Linked DNA regions of Homo sapiens: region 2 is linked to region 1. The links are contacts of gene promoters, found by promoter capture Hi-C in blood cells and fetal thymus (Javierre and others, 2016). All regions are on one chromosome and are shown on one strand. The core of a region is centred on a gene start or on the middle of the fragment in contact, and the rest is flanking DNA. Distances in the headings are between cores, read along the strand shown.

Evidence for each region. The method cuts DNA at HindIII sites, captures the fragments that hold promoters and counts their contacts. A CHiCAGO score of 5 or more calls a contact.
Region 2: a fragment that was not itself captured here is called in contact with the fragment with the promoter of ESRP2 in region 1 in 2 of 17 cell types (fetal thymus and megakaryocytes); the score reaches 5.6 in fetal thymus.

Annotation. Positions count from the first base shown.
Region 1 is chr16:68,234,837-68,237,804 of GRCh38, reverse strand. ESRP2 (epithelial splicing regulatory protein 2) reads left to right here and starts at 1,678. Exons shown (of 15, transcript NM_024939.3): 1 at 1,678-1,957; 2 at 2,043-2,171. The coding sequence starts at 1,760. RefSeq lists silencers at 1-70, 101-190, 1,501-1,730 and enhancers at 1-302, 303-890, 891-1,479. The HindIII fragment of the contact is 18,011 bases long and covers 1-2,968 here.
Region 2 is chr16:67,925,245-67,928,283 of GRCh38, reverse strand. It overlaps PSKH1 (protein serine kinase H1), which reads right to left. Exons shown (of 3, transcript NM_006742.3): 3 at 1-959. The coding sequence ends at 642. Among named protein-coding and RNA genes, the nearest start is that of CTRL, 5.1 kb to the left of the region's middle. RefSeq lists an enhancer at 811-1,312. The HindIII fragment of the contact is 3,315 bases long and covers 132-3,039 here.

The DNA of each region.
Region 1 (2,968 bases), core at 429-2,928:
CCACCAAGCGCAGGCGCCCTACCGGGCGGGAGGGGGAGGAGCGTTACTCGCGGTTGCGCCCCGCCCCGCGAACAAATATTTGACATTCCAGGCTTATCGGGAGGAGGGGCCCGAGGAGCAACGTTCTCCCTTCCCCCGCGCCTGATTCGCTTACCGCTTCCGGGGGAGGAGACGCATGGGCCAGTGCCCGGGTGGGCGGTCCGGAGATGGACAGCCGCGCACCAAGGCCCGCCTCCACCTGTAGGGAAAGTAAAGTGCTACTCGCTCGAACCCGCCGGGCGAAGGAAGCACTTCCCATGCTCTCCCTGTCGCCGTGTCCGGGCGCGAGTCATTTCCGTCCCGGGCGCCTGTTTCTTTAGCTGCCAAGTGGAGCTACGCTGAGCTCTCTCCCCCCGGGCCTCGCCCCTTTCCCGGGCATGAGCTCTGGTGATGCGCCCGGGTGCCCCGCTCTCTCCATTGTCCAGGGGCCGGGCCGCAGCACCCTCCTTGTCCGAAAGCGCGTGGTGCGGCTCCCGTCTCAGTCTCGAGTCGGGCTAGGCAACCGCGTGACTCAGTTCCCGCCACGCTGGAGCCCCCTCCTTCCTGCTGGATTATTCAGTTTCTCAGTCACTTATTCAGTTTCTCAGTCACCTCCCTGGGAGAGTTTGGGAAAGTAAGGAACGGCCGGGAAACGCGCCATAAAGGAGCCTCACCAAGCTCCACTGGGCAAAGGGAGGAATGGGAGCCCCAAATGCGGGGCTGTCAATTGGGTTGTAGGTGCGGGATGGAAAAGGGAGGATCTGCAGCCCGCATGCGCGCACACACGCTCAACGCTAGCCCCCCATCGGCCAGAGCGCTCGCAATCTCCAGGCAGCTTCTCCACCGTCCAGAAAGGGACGAAAGCAGGCAGGCCCCCACACGTGGGGTAGGAGTGAGGCTCCAGGCCCGTTCTACCCCTCTCAGCCTCGTCTAGGGTGCAGCTCTCTGCGATTTGGGGGGTTCCTTTCCCCAGCATTGAGGCCTGCCCACTCCCAACCCACAACGACCGCGCTCTGGCACTTCTCAGTGCCAGGCTAGCGCTCGGCCCTAGCATCTGCGTGGACAAGCCCTTCCCTGTGATCCCTGGTGACCACCCCACAGCTCTAACAACGCTGATGTTCCCGCCGCCCTCCCCTTTCCCAGGTGACTTCTGGTGATCCCCCTACAGGGTGATACCCGGCAACTCTCACCGCCCCCTTGACCCTTTGACTTCCATCAACCCCAGACCTGCCGTGTTGACCCCCACAGCCCCTAGACTGCCTCCTGGTGACTTCCATACTGGAGAAGGCCTCTGTCTTGCACGCTCCTTTGCAGAGGCCTGACGACCCCTGGGGAAGAGTGGGGGGAGAGCGGAAGAATGGGTTAGCCCCCAAAATCAGGCAGGACCAGCCCTGGAAGTAGGAATCCGGATCCTAAGCGTGCGCCCAGGCCGGGAGCGTGAGCTCTTGCGTCCTGGGTTGAGTTCTGGCGGCCCTCCCCCAAGGTTCCCGGAGCCGCCCCGGTCACGTGGCCGGCGGGGCCGGCAGGTAACTCGCCTGGAGAGGGCGTGGGCCGGTAGCCGCCCCGCCCCGCGGGGCGCCACGGGCGGGTCTTGGCAGCGCCCACTGAGCCAGCCGGGCCGCAGGTGCCGCCCCCGATACACGGTGTCCCGCCCAAGCTGATCCGCGTCTGCGGTCGGTCGGTGCGTGCGTGCGCCTCGTCGGTCCGCGTGTCTGGCCGAGAGCCCCCTTCCTCTGCGGCCATGACTCCGCCGCCGCCGCCGCCCCCTCCCCCGGGCCCTGACCCCGCGGCCGACCCCGCCGCGGACCCCTGCCCCTGGCCCGGATCACTGGTCGTCCTCTTCGGGGCTACGGCGGGTGCGCTGGGACGGGACCTGGGCTCGGACGAGACCGACTTAATCCTCCTAGTTTGGCAAGTGGTTGAGCCGCGGAGCCGCCAGGTAGGGTGGAAAAGAGGCGGTGAGGTCCCCAGGGAGCTTCCGGGGTCGAGGGGCGCGGCTGATCGGTTTCCCCCGCCGCTCACAGGTGGGGACGCTGCACAAATCGCTGGTTCGTGCCGAGGCGGCCGCACTGAGTACGCAGTGCCGCGAGGCGAGCGGCCTGAGCGCCGACAGCCTGGCGCGGGCAGAGCCGCTGGACAAGGTGCTGCAGCAGGTGAGCGCCGGGGTGGGTGGCGGCATGGCCTGGACGTGAGGACATTTCTGGGCGGGATTGGCGGCCGGAGGCTAGGCCTGGCGTGCCGCAACCAACCGGTCCAGGCGGCAGGACTGGGCTCTTGTTTGAAACTTTGAGCGACTCTCGCGTGTGCGTGCCCCTTTCATCCGCGCGTGCCAGCCATTCCCCTGGGCTCCTTACTTTTCAACCATTGCAGGAACCTACTCCTACCGAAGGGATCGGGACGCAGGCTTTGGGATCCATCCCCAGTTCCCGCCCGGGGAGCGAGGCCGAGACGCCTTTGGGAGACCTGCTGGGTCAGGTCTCCCTGAGCCGCAGCCGGAAGCGAAAGGGGTCGAGGGGCCCATATAGGTCACCTGTCCTTGCGGCCCGCGTCTTCGGCCTGCTTGGGAGCTGCTGGAGCGGAGGCGTAGGGCGGTGTCGGCCCTAGAGGTAGACGCCGCCAGGTGTAAACTGCTCGTCTAGGCCTGTCCCGGCCGGCTGGCCAGGCGTGGGCGCTGTCCCGGCCTGGCCTGGGGGACTATCTGCCTGCTGAGTGCAAAGGCCTGGGGTGCCTCCTGCCCTAGCTGAAGTGGGAGGTGGTTTCCATTGCTGTTTTCTTTTCCTTATCTTCACTACGGCGCTCATTCTATGTCTGACTCTTGAGTGTAATTAGTGTAAGTCCTTTTTATACACTCACGTTCTTTCATCTTCCAACAACTCTTGTGGTTCCTGATGAGGAGGCACCACGATGATGATTCCTTGTCTGTTCCAGAAGGGCTCCCGGCCCTTCACTT
Region 2 (3,039 bases), core at 540-3,039, 310 kb after region 1:
GGCCCTCCACCAGAGGTCCTGGGACCAGGAAGGCTCCCTGGAGGCACCATGAAGGAAGACAGATCTTGGCTGGGAGGTGGAGGGCTGTTTCGACCTAGCCAGGGGCTACGGGTCCAGTCAAGGCACAAGCTTTGTGCCTACCAGGGTCTCCCACTGGAGCATAATCTTAAGGATCAGGATGCATGGGAATGTGTGAAACCAGGGAGAAGGGCTCTGTGGAGGAAAGGGGGTCCCAGAAGTAACTGTCCCAAAGGGTCCTGAGGCCACAGGACACTCCACCCAGCACTGCAGTTCCCTTTGATTGGGGAAAAGTCAAAGGGCAAGGGAGACAGTGAAGGCCAGGTCCTATCCCTTCCCAACTCCACCAGAGCAGCTGCCCACCAAGAGGGGTATCAGTGCCAGGCCAGGCTCCCAGTTCAGGGGGAGTCACAGCCCCCTGTGCTACCTCTACTCTGTCACACCTGGCCCAGGCCCATGGTGAGGACAGGGGCTGCTGAAGGCACAGAGAAAGGGCTGGAGCCAGACATTCTTCACCTACTGTGGGCCACATAGGCCTATCTCCAGAGAGGGCATCGGACCCAGATGGCACCACAGTGTGTGGCCAGGCTGGGTCGTGCTGCATGTGTGCACAGCCAGGCGGCTCAGCCATTGTATTGCTGCTGGTAGCGCAGGTTGAGCTCCCGCAGCTCCCGTTCCCGCACACGGCGTGACTTATTGGAGCGTGTGGAGCGGCTGGAACGCGTGGACTGGGCAGATTTGGTGCTCTGGCAGCGCGAGGAGGCACGTTTAAGGAGGTTCTGGGATATGGAGCGGTGCAGGTTCTTCATGGATGAAGAGGCAGCCATGCTCACCACCCACGGGTGCCTCAGGGCCTGCAGTGCAGTCATACGGGCTCCAGGGTCCACTGTCAGCAGGCGGTCAATGAAGTCCTTGGCCAGGTTGGACACACTAGGCCAGGGCTAGAGACCAAGGACAAGCATTAGAGTGAGAGCATCTGACACTGCCCACCCCATCTGGATGAGGCCACTACTCAGCAACCCTCCCCTTTCCAGAGAGAGGTGCTGCCCCTCCTCTCATGTAGCACTTGGGGCCTCCCCGCCCAACGCTGGCTCAGGCTGAACAAGGGCTGCTCTCCAGGTGATGGAGTCTGGCAAGGAAGGAAAGGACCTGTGCACTCTCCCAGGGAGCAAATTCTATGGTGCACTGGACCCAAAGCCTGGCTCAGGGAGATGGCCTCTGCCAAGACCCCCCCGAACTTGTCCCAGGAGTATCATAACTCAGGGGACTGTTAGAGAATGATTCAAACTTTCCCACCACATCCTAAGTCAGATTGAAGCTCCAATCTCTGGATGACCAGGATCAGGCTACTTAAAGGGGAACTTCCTAGTCCTTACAGAGAAGATCCAACCTCTCTCCAACTGCCGAAGCAGTGGCAGAAGACCACTGCTCCCTGCCTCTGCCTCCCGGCATGGGGAGGAAAGGAAACAATTCAAGGCAACTAGATTTCCCAGTCGGCTGAGGGCAGGCGATCCCGGGACCAGGAAGGAACCAGGACCCTTCTCAGTGGCACCCTCTGGCCCGCATTACTTCTCTAAGCCACAAAGGGCTCCTGGCAGTGCTGTGCGCCAGCCTCATTTTAGTACATTCTGTCCCCTGGGAGGAACTCCATAAAGCCCACTCTGCCACATGCACCCCGGGCTGCCTCATCTCAGCCCCGAACCCAGCAGCTGTCTGTCTCAGGGCCTCAGGTTGTACGGCTGTCTTCACCTGACTGGATCCTCAGGTTCTCAGGGTAAAGGACACTTGCTCAGACTCCCTCTTAGCCCCCAGTGCTTCCAGCAATTATTCCAGCTGTAACGTGAGACTGCAATTTCATGTTCGTTTAGTATTCCCATGAGATCATGCTGAGCTGGATGAGCCCGTGCCTGGTGCTGCGCATACAGGAAGCACTCAGTAGGCACAGGCTCAGACAGTAAACAACCCACGGTGCTGCCGGATGGGTGCCCTTTCCTGGAGCTGCTTCCAGGCCTTGGGGCTCAGCCAGGTGAGTCCTTGCGTCCCTGCATCTCCTAGGAACACTTCTGGCACGGGCTCTGAGGCTCCCCCAAGGATAGGCAGCTAGGACCTTTCCTGAGCCTGCTGCAGATGACTCAACAGGGATGCTAACGATCCCCTCACTTTCCTTCCTGCCAGGTGAGGTCTGCCTGTTCCACCCATGGTACCCTTCACCACCCATGGTACCCTTCACCTTGAGGAACCCCTGAACATGCCCTCCAGGGGGTTCAGGAGGATCTGAGAGACCACCTTCAGGGCAGGTGCACAGCCATCTAGCAGACACACACACTCACTGACTACTGCTACTCCCAGTCTGGCTCGCCTGACCTCCAACTCTTTCCCTACCCCCTTCCCCACTGCCACAGAGGGATGAGGCAGGGAGAACACGCTTCCACCGTCCTGAGGAAGGCCTGGGGCTACCTGCAGCTGCTGTCTTCACCCACTCTTTGGAAGGTTATTCCAAGTTTTACTGAGCTGAAGTGGGAGCAACAGGGGAACCATATTCCCAAACACACCTAACAGGGTCATCCTCATCAGTGGGCCAGCAGCACCCAGTGACTCCTGGGGAGATGCTGGCCCCCAGGAGGAGGAAAGTCAGGGTCCAGGAGCATGCAGCCAACGAAGGCCCATAGATGCCTTACTATCCAAGGGCTGTGGGTGGGCGCAGAGAGCAACAGCCCTCCCCGACAGGCAGGTAAGTCTCCTGGGGGCTTGTGTAGTTCAAGATTCATATTGAGGGCCAGGCGTGGTGGCTCATGCCTGTAATCCCAGCACTTTGGGAGGCTGAGGCAGGTGGATCACAAGGTCATGAGATCAAGACCATCCTGGCCAACATGGTGAAACCCCGTCTCTACTAAAAATACAAAAATTAGTCGGGCGTGGTGGCGTGCCTGTAGTCCCAGCTACTCAGGAAGCTGAGGCAGGAGAATTGCTTGAACCTGAGAGGCGGAGGTTGCAGTGAGCCAAGATCGCACCACTGCACTC